Linked DNA regions of Homo sapiens: region 2 is linked to region 1. The links are contacts of gene promoters, found by promoter capture Hi-C in human tissues and cell types (Jung and others, 2019). All regions are on one chromosome and are shown on one strand. Each heading gives the region's core, a stretch centred on a gene start or on the middle of the fragment in contact. The rest is flanking DNA. Distances are from core to core; before and after follow the strand shown.

Region 1 (6,942 bases), core at 2,990-5,489:
GTGTACCTGTGAGCTTGGAGAGTAAGAAAGCTGCTCAGGCAGCTAGGTTTGGGATTTCTTCAGTTCCAACAAAAGTCTGTCATCTGAACACACCTATGGTTAACTTGGATAAGCCGAAGGAAAGAGCTCAAAGATTTGGTTTGAATGTCTCTTCAATTTCCAGAAAGTCTGAAGATGATAAGAAACTGAAAAAGAGGAAGGAGCGATTTGGGATTGTCACAAGTTCAGCTGGAACTGGAACCACAGAGGATACAGAGGCAAAGAAGAGGAAAAGAGCAGAGCGCTTTGGCATTGCCTGATGAAAGGTTCTTGATACTTTCTGTTCTCCAGTGTTTTCCACTTCTCTCATTCTTCTTGGTCACATATATACTAAATGCAGTCTTGCCTTGCAATGAGGGAGCAGGTACCCCAGGTAAAACTGTGAACTGCCGCGGCAGTTTGACTTATTGCTGTTTCAGCTTTAAGGTTGTTGTGTTTTTGTTTTTGATTATATTGCTTGTTTTTTGTTTTTTTTTTTTTTTTTTTTGAGACGGAGTCTCGCTGTTGCCCAGGCTGGAGTGCAGTGGTGTGATCTCGGCTCACTGCAGGCTCTGCCCCACCGGGGTTCACACCATTCTCCTGCCTCAGCCTCCCGAGTAGCTGGGACTACAGGCACCCGCCACCTTGCCCAGCTAATTTTTTGTATTTTTAGTAGAGACGGGGTTTCACCGTGTTAGCCAGGATGGTCTCGATCTCCTGACCTCGTGATCCGCCCGCCTCGGCCTCCCAAAGTGCTGGGATTACAGGTGTGAGCCACAACGCCCGGCCGATTATGTTGCTTGTTAATAAAAAAGAAAAGAAAAGAAAAAAAAAGCACAGCCTTTCATTCCCACAGTCGGAGTGTGCTGGAATTCAGTGGGCTCCAGGGACCAGCTGTTCTGATGAGTCCAGGAATTCACCAGCCCCAGCTGCCAGACTAAACTGACCTTGGCATCAGAAACAGTTTCCTCTACAAGTAACCATTTTAGAATTGCTGAAAAACCAATGACAGCATCTCTGAAGCCCACTTAACATGCCTCCCCTTGCTAAATCACAAAAGATTCCTTGGCTTCTTGGAAGCAAGCAGATTTTGCTAGGACACAGCTGAGGTTATAGAACTTATGGCTGTCACAGGGAGGTCACTCCATTTGCATCTCAAAAAGTCTGAAAGTGGCCAGGTGCGGTGACTCACGTCTGTAATCCTAGCACTTTGGGAGGCTGAGGCGGGTGGATCACTTGACATCAGGAGTTCAAGACCAGCCTGGCCAATATGGTGAAACCCCATCTCTACTAAAAATGCAAAAATTAGTCAGACATGGTGGCACGTGCCTGTAATCCCAGCTACCTGGGAGGCTGAGGCAGGAGAATCACTTGAACCCAGAGGCAGAGGTTGCAGTGAGCCAAGATCGCGTCACTGTGCTCCAGCCTGGGTAACAGAGCAAGACTCTGTCTCAAAAAAAAAGAAAAAAAAAATTCTGAAAGTACTTCTGGTCTCTCTCTTTAGAGGTTAGAGTTGCTTCTGCTCAGAAATACACAGTTCTGGGAACTGAGTCTCATGTGGATAGGATGAGTATGCCTTATGGGCAAAGTGACAGTTCTTCCCAAAACTCAGATGGGGATGAAGAGGAGGGATGGGTGAGGAAGGGCTGTGGCCTCACTAGGCTTTAACTGAACAGGATATGGACAAGCAGCGAGTGTGGAGGGTGCCTACCGACTCTGAAGCCCTGGCTGGAGCAACACCCATGGCTAGGTGTGTCCCGGGCCTCAGGAACAGGTATGTGGGCCCCTCGCCACTGTACCTCCCCTCACAGGCTTGTGGATGTGTCAGATGGCAGAAGGGTGGGAGGAAAAGAGCTGCCCTGCGTGGGTGGTTCCATGGTCTCAAGCTAGTGCCATCAAGACAGGAAAAGGCCGGCTGGGCACAGTGGCTTATGCCCGTAATCCCAGCACTTTGGGAGGCCGAGGCAGGTGGATCATTTAAGGTCAGGAGTTCAAGACCAGCCTGGCCAACATGGTGAAACCTCATCTCTACTAAAAATACAAAAATTAGTTGGGCGTGGTGGTGGGCGCCTATAATCCCAGCTACTCAGGAGGCCAAGGCAGCAGAACTGCTTGAACCTGGGAGGTGGAGGTTGCAGTGAGCCGAGATCGCACCATTGCACTCCAGCCTGGGTGACAAAAGCAAAACTCTGTCTCAAAAAAAAAAAAAAAAAAAAGACAGGAAAAGGCCACATGTGCAGGGATGATCACAAGAGTCGAGGGGTAGGTAAGAGGGGGTGTGTGTGTGTGAATTTGAGCAGCTGCTTTTTAGGGAGTGTACAGTGGTGATGGTGTTTGTGCCTGTGTCAAATAGGGTGGTCTGATGATGTCTCCTTATAAGCACTATCTTGTCTTCTTGAAGACTTAATTAATTTCCAATGAAACTATCTTGTACAGAACTATCACCATGTAAAGTTGTGGGACAGGCAGGAAAAAAAAAAAAAAAAAAATATATATATATATATATATGCCAGGTGCAGTGGCTCATGCCTATAATCCCAGTACTTCCGAAGGCCGAGGTAAAAGGATCACTTGAGCCCAGGAGTTCAAGACCAACCCTGGGAAACATGATGAAATAGTGTCTCTACCAAGAAATACACACAAAAAAATTTGCCAGGCGTGTTGGTGCATGCCTGTGGTCCCAGCTACTTGGGAGACTGAGGTGGGAGGATTGCTGGAGCCTGGGAAGTCGAGGCTGCATTGAGCCATGATTGCGTCACTGCACCCAGCCTGGGCGACAGAGGGGCCCCTGTCTCAAAAGCAAACAAACAACAACAACAAAAACACATAAAGGGACAGACTCAGAGGTCACATGTGCATGAGAAGGTGTGACCGCCTGAGGGGAGTGAGGCTGCTGGGAGCGGTGGGAGACCCCGCTGGTAGTTGTGGGCGACAGCACACAACACTGGAGAGCTTGCCCGCCTCTGCTATGCACTGAGTGATTGTCAGCAAGTCCCTTCCCCCGCTTGGGTCTCAGTTTCCCCATCTGTGGATTGAACTCAGTGACTTCCACAAGCCCCCAAACTTTAAGGTTATAGCATTAGATTTCAAGTATGTCCAGATAGGAAAGAAGACACAAAGAAAACTACTGGTTTCTTTTAAAGTACAAGATATCCCACCGAGTAGGAGGTGGGAAGCCAGGAGCCACCATATGAAGGGGAGCAGTGAAGGGAGTTCAGGCCAAGGGTCCACACCAGCTGCTGGGTGTGATGAATAACTCAGAGTTGGGGTCCAGAAAAAAGTAGGGACGGGCCAAAAACTAGGGATGAGCTCCCAGGAGAGTGAGTCCTAGAAGGGAGTTTGAGAGTCTAGCTGGGGTCTCCTACAGAAAGGTGGTCCTTCCCTCAGCACATCTCCTCCAACCGCCTAGTTTTGATGAAATCAAGAAGAGACGCTCAACGTAGCGGGTGTGATATCCTAGTACTCTCCTGCAGTTGGGAGAGTGTTGAGGGAGAGTTCCAATCCAGGATAACCCACCCTTATTCAAGAATTAAGCGAACAGACAAGGTCTACCCTCCTACAGATTACCTTTGAACAGCCGCAGAGGGCCAAAGATCCGAGGCAGTGAACTCCTGAGTCCGAGTGAGGGTAAAAGGAGTCCCCAGACGGTGGAAATGGGGGCCTGGGAGTCAGGAGTCCTGAAACCAAGGGGAGCGTCCCGGGATCCAGAAGAGGAGGTCTCAGGATGGAGTGGGAAGAGTCTCGGGACCACAGATGAGGGAGTTCGGTAACTAAAGGGGAGGATCCCAGGACCCGGAGGAGGTGGGAGGGACTCTCAAGACCTAGAGGGAGGAGTCCTGCGACCAAAGGGGAGGGGTCCCAGGATCCAGAGGAAGCCGGGGGAGGTCTCAGGACCGAGGCGAGGGAGTCCCGGGATCACAGAGGAGCGGGTCCCGGGTTCGAGTCGCTCTTGCCCTCCCGCCCGGGCCCCGCGCTCACTGTCCATGCCGGGGAAGGGCAGCGGCTGCGCCCCCAGCTGCTGCTCCACCGCGATCTCCAAGTCAAACTTGATGTGGTCCACGCTGGCGATGATTTCCTGCATGGCGGCGGCGGCGGCCCCACCGGCCCGGCTCCCCCTCGGTCTCCTGCAGCCTTCTCGCCTTTACCCGCCGCCGGCCCCGCCGCACACACTCCTCCTTCGCTTCGCCTCGCCGCCGCCGCCGCCGCCGCCCGAGGGATGCCGGGAGCGCCCGGAGCCCGCGCCGGCCCTTGCGCCTGTCCAGGCACTGCCAATCGAGACTCCGCCGTTCCGCTAGTCCCAGCTAGCCGCCAGCCGAACACCGGCCTCGCCAGAAACCTGAAACCAGCCGCGTGAGTCGGCGACGCGGATTGCGCCTGCGCGCTTGGGGAGAGGGGGACCCGAGGAAGAGACTGGTTCGCCGCGGGGACCGGGCAGGGCTCCCCGTCGGAGTGCACTGCGCCGGACACTTCAAGTGAGTTCCTGTGTGATCCTCGCAGGAGCCCCGGGACCCGGGCCAAGACACGCCAGAGGGGAAGGAAGTGCCCGAGCCGGGATTGGAGCCGGGGGCGTCTGAGGAGGGAAACTGAGGCTGCAGAAGTCCGTGTGGAGAGGGGTCGGCGTTGGCCTGAGGGTCCGGGTGGGCCTCTGAGGAGGGGCGGGTCTCTCCGAGGAAGGACGGCCGCAGCGTGTCTCTAATTCAGGGTTTTTTCTCGCTCTGTGGCCCAGGCTGGAGTACAGGGGTACGATCATAGCTCACTGCAGTCAACTTCTCAGACTCAAGCGATCCTCCCACCTCAGCCTCCCGAGTAGCTGGAACTACAGACGCTGCACCACCACACTTGGCTAATTTTTAAAATTTTATTTTTAATTTTTGTAGAGACGGCGGGGTTGGGGGGGCGGGTGGCGGGTCTTGCTATGTTGCCCAGGCTGGTCTCGAACTCCTGGCCCCAAGCCCAAAGCGATCCTCCTGCCTGGGCCTCCCAAAGTGCTGGAATTGCAGGCATGAGCCACTATACAGCCTAATTCAGGGTTTTTTTTAACCAGGGTGGGGTAATGAGCTTGTGTAGGAACAAAATGCACCCCTATTTTTCTCTATGTGAAGTATAGCATTTCCTTTCCTGATTGCTGGAGCAGCCTTAGCAGTGCCTGAAACTGTGAGGGTGAGTGTAAATGATAGTTCCAGATAACAGTTTGTGCAGGGCCAGGCATGGTGGCTCACACCTGTAACCTCAGCACTTTGGGAGTCTGAGGCGAGAGGATCACGTGAGGTCAGGAGTTCGAGACCAGCCTGGACAGGATGGCAAAACCCCGTCCCTACTGAAAATATAAAAATTGGCCTGGAGTAGTGGCGCGTTCCTGTAATCCCAGCTACTTGGGAGGCTGAGGCATGAGCATGGCTTAAACCCGGGAGGCAGAGGTTGCATTGAGCCGAGATTGTACCACCCCACTCCAGCCTGGTGACAGAGTGAGACGCAAAAAAACCCAGTTTGTGCAGCAACTACAAGGTGGTATCTTAAGCTGTCACTTACATTTATTACTGCTTTGAAATTATGATAGAGTCGGCCGGGCGCGGTGGCTCACGGCTGTAATCCCAGCACTTCGGGAGGCCGAGGCGGGCGGATCACAAGGTCAAAAGATCCAGACCATCCTGGCCAACATGGTGAAACCCTGTCTCTACTAAAAATACAAAAATTAGCTGGGCTTGGTGGCATGCGTCTGTAGTCCCAGCTCCAGGGGAGGCTGAGGCAGGAGAATCGCTTGAATCCGGGAGGCGGAAATTGCAGTGAGCCGAGGTCACGCCTGAGGACAGAGTGAGAGACTGTCTCAAAAAAAAAAAAAGAAAAGAAAAGAAATTATGATAGGGTCTTGTTATTTCATGCATTGAAAATAAGCATCTATACTAGTATAGCAGAAATTTGTTTTTAAAGCATTTTGATGCCATTTCAATATCATTGCTTTTTGTTTTGTAATTCTGTGTATTGTAATTAATGCACGTAAGGCAGGGCATGGAGGCTTACGCCTGCAATCCCAACACTTTGGGAGGCCAAGGCTGGAGGATTGCTTGAGGCCAGGAGTTCTAGACCAGCCTGGCAACATAGGGAGACTCCATCTCTACAAAAAAATACAAAAAATTAGACAGGTATGGTGGTGTGCACCAGTAGTGCTAGTTAATTGAGAGGCTGAGGTAGGAGGATCACTTGAGCCCAGGAGTTGGAGGTTGCAGTGATTGTGCATTTGCACTCCACTGTGCCATCGCACTCCAGCCTGGGCAACATGAAGACCCCATTCCACAAAAAAGAAAATTACATAAACACCATGCTTGTAAGAAGGAGTGGCAGGGCTTGCCAGATGCAGAATGATAAAGGCCCCCTGCACTAGTTTCACAAAAGGTGCTGGTCAGGACAATCATCAATGCGTTACATGGACCTGAGTTCAAAGCCAGCCCAGCCCAAGCTGGCCAGTCTCACCCACTGCACTGCTGCAGGACCCCAGCAAGTCTCTCCCCTTGCTGGGCCTAGTTTTTTGTTTGTTGTTGTTGTTGTTGTTTTGAGATGGAGTCTTGCTCTGTCGCTCAGGCTGGAGTGCAATGGCGCGATCTTGGCTCACTGCAACCTCTGCCTCCCACGTTCAAGTGATTCTCCTGCCTCAGCCTCCCAAGTAGCTGGGATTACAGGGGCACGCTGTCACGCCCAGCTAATTTTTATATTTTCGGCAGAGATAGGGTTCACCACGTCAGGCTGGTCTCGAACTCCTGACCTGAGGGGATCCACCCACCTTGGCCTCCCAAAGTGCTGGGATTACAGGCGTGAGCCACCGCTCCTGACCTACTGGGCCTAGTTTTTAATCTGTTCAATCTGCCATCACTTGTAAGACTTTTCCAATCGCAACCTTCTAATATAACCAGACTCTAAAATACTTTAGGC
Region 2 (7,232 bases), core at 1,731-4,230, 540 kb before region 1:
ACTCCCCCAAGGAAAGGGAGACTCCCTTTCCCGGTCAGCTAAGTAGCGGGTGTTTTCCTTGACACTGAGGCTACCGCTAGACCACCGTCCGCTCGGCAAGGGGCGTCTTCCCAGACACTGGCGTTACTGCTAGACCAAGGAGCCCTTCTGGTGGCCCTGTCTGGGCATAACAGAAGGCTCGCACTCTTGTCTTCTGGTCACTTCTCACTATGTCCCCTCAGCTCCTATCTCTGTATGGCCTGGTTTTTCTTAGGTTATGATTATGCAGCGAAGATTATTATAATATTGGAATAAATTATAATATTGGAGGATTATTATAATATTATAATATTGGAATAATAAATTTGGAAAAAACTAATGATTAATGATATTGATATATAATCATATCTATGATCTAGATCTAGTATAACTCTTGTTGTTTTATATATTTTATTATACTGGAACAACTCATGCCCTCGGTCTCTTGGCTTGGCACCTGGATGGCTTGCCGCCCACATCTCCCCCCTTTTTATTAACTAGGATCGCCATCGCCATCATTGCTTGTCGTTGACTTCGGATTTGTTTTCGGACTCCTTGGAGGCATCTGCAGGCTAAAAGGAGACAACGTAAGCATACCAATATTAATAATGCCAGTGACAACAATGATCCTCCAAGGGGTTTGATCTATTTAAAGGGATTAAGATCAGATAATTGTTTAGTTATGCCTTCAAAAATGTCTGAGCCAGGAACAGTGGATAAATGAGCTTGTGAATCCTCGAAAATTTGCTCTTTAAGTTTTGAAATATCCAAGGTTAAGTTATCATCCCAGGCTTTTAAATGTCTTGAGACATTTTCCCAGCTATGTTGATATTTATTATAAGCATAAGGCATTATGCAATAATCAGAAGTATTCCAATCACTCTGTAATTGCATACGGTGTTCCAAATTCATATCTCCCAGCCAGATTACACTTTGGCGGAGATCATTAATTTGATTAGCTAATTTTTGATCAATTTGAGCCTGAGAATTCCAAAGTCTGGAGGAGTTTTTCTGCCATGCTTCAATTCAACATATTGAACGGTTTGAACAGAATTGTGGATGGCAACTCCAGCAGTTGCTGCTGTTGCAGTAACCGCAATTAGTCCTGCAATGATGGCAATAAGAGTAAAAATAAATCTCTTTGTTCTTTTGCGGATACCTTTAAGAACTTCATTGACTATGTGAATAGAGGGGGAAGACTCCCATGGACGATGTAAAGAAACTGGTATCCATACCCCCTCCCTAGCCCTTACCAAGAGAGTACTTGTAGTGGGATTAAAAGTAGCATCAATGCACGTGAACAGCTTACAGTTATCACATTCTATAGTTTGTGTATTGGGAATGATAATTATATTTCCAACCAACAGCATGTAAGGGGGTTTGACATAGCTCCTGATGGGTATCACCCGTTCAGATATGAGGGTGATGTTGAATGTGGGTGTTTTGGTATTAGTGTGAAGGAGTTGATAGGTAGTGTTCCATATCCTTATTCCTGTCATAGCTGCAGCTAATTTTCATAGTTGAGGATGTTCTGGGGTAACAAAGGGATGAATCATTTTTGGTCTAGGAGGAGTAATGCCTGCATCCATCCATTTAAATAGGTAAGGGGACACCCATTGTCTCAGCCTGTATGACTGCCATCCATCCTCTACATAATCTAACAAATAATTAAACTCTGAGCATGAGGTATTTTTGCTGGAGCAATCTTGCCAATAATGCCCTTTTGGAGCCCAATCAATAACAATACCTGCGGCTAGACTTTGGAGCACAACGGCCTTAGGAGCATTACAATTATTCCATAAAATTGAAGTCACTATAAAAGGTCCCTTTGTAGGTTTCTTTAACCAAAAGAGAGGCTGGGCACAGTTGCTCACACTAGTAAACCCAGCACTTTGGGAGACCGAGGCGGGCAGATCACGAGGTCAGGAGTTCAAAACCAGCTTGGCCAACATGGTGAAACCCCTGCCTCAGCTTCCTGAGTGCTGGGATTATAGGCATGTGCCACCACGCGCAGCTAATTCTTGTATTTTTTCAGTAGAGACGAGGTTTCATCATGTTGCCCAGGCTGGTCTCGAGTACCTGACCTCAACCTGAGGTGATCCAACCACCTCAGCCTCCCAAAGTGCTGGGATTACAAGCATGAGTCACCGCACCCGGGCCCCAGTCACTTTAGAATAGCATGTTGCTTTGTATTCGGAGGGTCTCTCTGCAAATAGCCCATCAACACTGAGCGTGCCTGGAAAGACCTGGTTTTCAAATAACTGGCTTCGTCTGTGTAAAACGAGTCTTGTTGTATGCATTAAAAATTATCTTGGCTGGGCGTGGTGGCTCACGCCTTTAATCCCAGCATTTTGGGAGGCTCGTTCTGTTGCCAGGGAGGCTGCAAAAGGAGGATGCGGCTATTTCTGCTTCCATCATGGAAGGCTGGGATTCCACAGGCACAGAAAGGAAGGAGGGAGAGATGGGAATGTGACTGTCCTCCAGACACAGCCTCTGGCAGGATCGGATGTGGGAGAGTGAGGGTCCCACCCCAGCTGGGGTCTACCCAGGTCCATGTCTTGGACATGTTGAGAGTTTTTCTGGAAGGCAGGGATACAGTGTGGTCCAAAAACACACAAATGCCCCTACTGGCCCAGGGGTTGTCACAATAGACTGGAAGGGTGACACATCCCAGGCGCTTGCCACCCATCACACGCACCTCCTACCCACTGGCATCCTTCCACCCCAGGCACACACAAAGCCTCAGTCCAGAGATCAACTCTGGACTCAGCTCTGAATTTGCATATCCTGTGTGTAGATTCATTCTTCATAACCTCTGCCCAGCCTAGCTTGTGTATCATTTTTTTTTCTCTATTAGGGGAGGAGCCCGTCCTGGCACTCCCATTGGCCTGTAGATTCACCTCCCCTGGGCAGGGCCCCAGGACCCAGGATAATATCTGTGCCTCCTGCCCAGAACCCTCCAAGCAGACACAATGGTAAGAATGGTGCCTGTCCTGCTGTCTCTGCTGCTGCTTCTGGGTCCTGCTGTCCCCCAGGAGAACCAAGATGGTGAGTGGGGAAAGCAAGGGATGGGTGCTGGAGAGGACTGGAAGGAGGTGAGGAACAGGACATGTGGCTGGGAGACAGGCTGGATGCAGCTGGGATACCCTGGCATACGGCAGGAATGGGTGCCCAAGGCTGTCAACTCCCTCAGCTCACACACTTCCAGGAGCATTCAGGGAGCCTCTGCGCTGGCCCGAAATAAGACCTTCAGGAATCTGAATCTAAAACCCCTAGTTTACAGTGAAAACAAAGACTCCAAAGACCAAGCGACCTGCTTGGGGTAGACAGTCAGGACGGAGTAGGAACCATATGCCTGGAGCTGCTTCTGCTCCTGTTCCTTCCCTCCTTCCGATGGCTGGGTACACCTGCCTGACGCTGAGGGAAAGAGAGAGCAGCCCCAAGGGGAAAGTGGGAAGGCAGGTTGGCTGGAGGGATGGTGCTAGAAGGAAACCCGTGCCCAAATCCCACACTCAGACACCACTGCAGTGGGTCTGGAAGGCGAGTGGCTGGAAGAGAAGAGAGTGGGAGCTCCGGGAGATCAAGAGTCACTCCTAGGATAAGGGAAGGAGGCTGTTTGTGGCATGAGAATGTGCAGGATAAAGACATGGAAGCGAATGGCTTCTCAGTTGTGTGAGTTTAAAATTCATGACATTTACAAATTGTCAGAAAAGGTGTTATATGTTTGTTATATAACAATCACTTTGGAATGTTAATCTGATTCTGTGCCAAAATCTGAATTACTCAGGGTTCTCCAGAGAAACAGAACTAATAGGTGGTACACATATACATATATATGTACGTACACATACATACATACACTGTATACACATGGATACACACACACATAGGAAGAGATTTACATATATGTATACAAAAGAGAGAGAGAGTAGAGATTTATTTTAAGAAATTGACTCACACTATTGGGAGGAGTAACAAGTCCTAAATCTTCAGAGCCGGCCAGCAGGCTGGAGACCCAGGGAAGAGTTGATGTCTTAGTCTTGATTCCAAGGGCAGACTGTAGGCAGAATTCTTTCCTCTTTAGGGGACATCTGAGGCTTTTTCTCTTAAGGCCTTCAACTGATTGGATGAAGCCCACCACTATGGAGAGTAATCCACTTTACTCAAGGTCTACTGATTTTTTTGTAAATTAAAAAAAAAACTGTGGGTGCATAGTATGTGTATATATTTATGGGGTACATGAGAGGTTTTGATTCAGGCATGCAATGTGAAATAATCACATCATCAAAAATGAGGTATCCATCCCTTCAAGCTTTTATCGTTTGTGTTACAGACAATCCAATTATACTTTTTTGGTTATTTTAGTTTTTAAAAGTATTTGATTATTTATTTATTTATTTATTTTTGAGACAGAGTCTCACTCTGTCACCCAGGCAGGAGTGCAGTGGCATGATCTCGGCTCACTGCAACCTCCGCCTCCCAGGTTCAAGCAATTTTCCTGCCTCAGTCTCCTGAGTAGCTAGGACTACAGGCACCTGCCACCACACCTGGCTAATTTTTTTGTATTTTTAGTAGAGACGGGTTTCATCATGTTGGCCAGGCTAGTCTTGATATCCTGACCTCGTGATCTGCCCGCCTTGGTCTCCCAAAGTGCCGGGATTACAGGTGTCAGCAACTGCGCCTGGCCTCTCTTTTGGTTATTTAAAAGTGTACAATTAAATTATGATTATTATTATTATTTTTGAGATGGATTCTTGTTCTGTCACCCAGGCTGGAGTGCAGTGGCGTGATCTTGGCTTACTGCAAACCTCCGCCTGTTGGGTTCAAGCAATTATCTTGCCTCGGGTGTACACTGCCACACACGGCTAACTTATGTATTTTTAATAGAGATAGGGTTTCACCATGTTGGCTAGACTGGTCTTGACCTCTTGACCTCAAGTGATCCACTCACTTCAGCCTCCCAGAGTGCTGGAATTACAGGCACGAGCCACCACACCTGGCCCCAGTTAAATTATTATTGACTATAGTCACCCTGTTGTGCTATCAAATAGTAGGTCTTATTCATTCTTCTTTTTTTTTTTTTTTTTGTGACAGAGTTGCCCAGGCTGGAATGCAGTGGTGCAATCTTGGCTCACTGCAACCTCTGCCTCCCGGGCTTAAGCGATTCTCCTGCCTCAGCCTTCTGAGTCGCTGGGACTACAGGTGTGTGCCACCACGCCCGGCTAATTTATGTATTTTTAGTAGAGATGGGGTTTCACCATGTTGGCCAGGCTGGTTTCGAACTCCTGACCTCAAGTGACCCACCTGCCTCAGCTTCCCAAAGTGTTGGAATTACAGGCATGAGCCACCACACCTGGCCCCAGTTAAATTATTATTCACTGGAGTCACTTTGTTGTGCTATCAAATAGTTTTCTAACTATTTTTTTTGTACCCATTAACCACCCTCCCAATTTCCCCCCAACCCTGCCACTACCCTTCCCAGCCTTTGGTAACCATCCTTCTACTCTCTATGTCCATGAATTCAATTGTAGGGTCTACTGATTTAAAGGCTAATCACATTTAGACACTCAGGAGCAAGAATAATTTTAGTAATTGAACTAGGATTCTGCCATATGACCTCCAACATCATTAGCACCTGTGTAAATTGTATCATAAAATAATTATGGAACTATTATGGAAATGTCCCTCTCTCCCAGATCCCACCTTGTACCAAAATGCAAGGTACAACCCCGGGAATTCTGAGCTCCATCCTAGTCTTACCCTGTGCTAATTCAGTCTGGGTCATTTCTTGAATTTTCTGGTAAATTCTCCTTTCTACCCTTTCTAACTATATGTATTTGTCAGGTTAAGCTAGAAGTGTTAATTTTTTTTTTTTTGAGATGGAGCCTTGCTTTGTCACCTAGGCTGAAGTGCAGTGGCATGATCTCAGCTCACTGCAAGCTCCGCCTCCCGGGTTCATGCCATTCTCCTGCCTCAGCCTCCTGAGTAGCTGGGACTACAGGCACCCGCCACCATGCTTGGCTAATTTTTTGAATTCTTAGTAGAGACGGGGTTTCACCATGTTAGCCAGGATGGTCTCGATCTCCTGACCTCGTGATCCACCCGCCTCGGCCCCCTAAAGTGCTGGGATTACAGGCGTGAGCCACTGAGCCCGGACGAAATGTTAATTTGTTTTTTTTGAGACGGAGTCTCACTCTGTCATCCAAGCTGGAGTGCAGTGGCATGATCTTGGCTTGTTGCAACCTCTGCCTCTCTGGTTCAAGTGATTTTCCTGCCTCAGCCTCCAGCATGACTGGGATTACAGGCCCGCACCACCATGCCCAGCTAATTTTTGTATTTTTTAATAGAGATGGGGTTTCACCATGTTGGCCAGGCTGGTCTTCAACTCCTGATCTCAAGTAATCTGCCTGCCTTGGCCTCCCAAAGTCCTGGGATTACAGGCATGAGCCACGGAGCCCAGCCTAGAAATGTTAATTTCTAACGCATGTCAGATTCCATGCACACTGGGCAAGGTTCCATTCCTCCATGGGGTGACTCAGGGATCCAGGCCAATTGCATATTGAGACTCTTTCATATTATCCTGTGGCCTTCAAAGTCGTCACCTCTAGGGATGAGAAACAAAAGGGACAAGCCAGCTGGTAGGGTCTTGGACAAGAAGAAAGACATCACTTCTGCTCACATTCTCTTTTGACAAAACTCAGTCACATGGTCCCAATATATCTTCGAGGTGGCTGAGTAATGTTATCTTCCTATGTGTCAAGCAGAGGAAATAATGTAGTGAAGACACAGGATGGTCTCTGAAATATCATCTCAGGCATGAAAGTAGAGCATATTCACTTGAGTGAGCCTCCAGTGGTGTGAAGTTGATGGCAGGAGAAAGAGCTGGGGAAGAAAAGGCCAGTGGCAGGTCTCCCCTCCTAGCCCTATGCAGCCCCACAGTGGGACCCTTGCATGGACCTCAACCATCAGAATCTTTTCTTTTGCAGGTCGTTACTCTCTGACCTATATCTACACTGGGCTGTCCAAGCATGTTGAAGACGTCCCCGCGTTTCAGGCCCTTGGCTCACTCAATGACCTCCAGTTCTTTAGATACAACAGTAAAGACAGGAAGTCTCAGCCCATGGGACTCTGGAGACAGGTGGAAGGAATGGAGGATTGGAAGCAGGACAGCCAACTTCAGAAGGCCAGGGAGGACATCTTTATGGAGACCCTGA

Evidence for each region. The method cuts DNA at HindIII sites, captures the fragments that hold promoters and counts their contacts. A contact is called where the count stands out against the background at its distance.
Region 2: the fragment with the promoter of AZGP1 here is called in contact with the fragment with the promoter of CPSF4 in region 1 in 1 of the 25 tissues and cell types used here (spleen).

Annotation. Positions count from the first base shown.
Region 1 is chr7:99,436,240-99,443,181 of GRCh38, reverse strand. It overlaps CPSF4 (cleavage and polyadenylation specific factor 4), which reads right to left and starts at 4,239. Exons shown (of 8, transcript NM_006693.4): 1 at 3,997-4,239. The coding sequence starts at 4,099. The region is part of intron 2 of ATP5MF-PTCD1 (ATP5MF-PTCD1 readthrough); the gene reads left to right. PTCD1 (pentatricopeptide repeat domain 1) reads left to right here and starts at 4,384. Exons shown (of 8, transcript NM_015545.4): 1 at 4,384-4,490. It also overlaps the pseudogene LOC100131859. RefSeq lists a silencer at 3,945-4,244 and enhancers at 4,505-4,794, 6,091-6,616. The HindIII fragment of the contact is 24,338 bases long and covers 1-6,942 here.
Region 2 is chr7:99,971,779-99,979,010 of GRCh38, reverse strand. It overlaps AZGP1 (alpha-2-glycoprotein 1, zinc-binding), which reads left to right and starts at 2,980. Exons shown (of 4, transcript NM_001185.4): 1 at 2,980-3,066; 2 at 7,005-7,232. The coding sequence starts at 2,991. The HindIII fragment of the contact is 25,198 bases long and covers 1-7,232 here.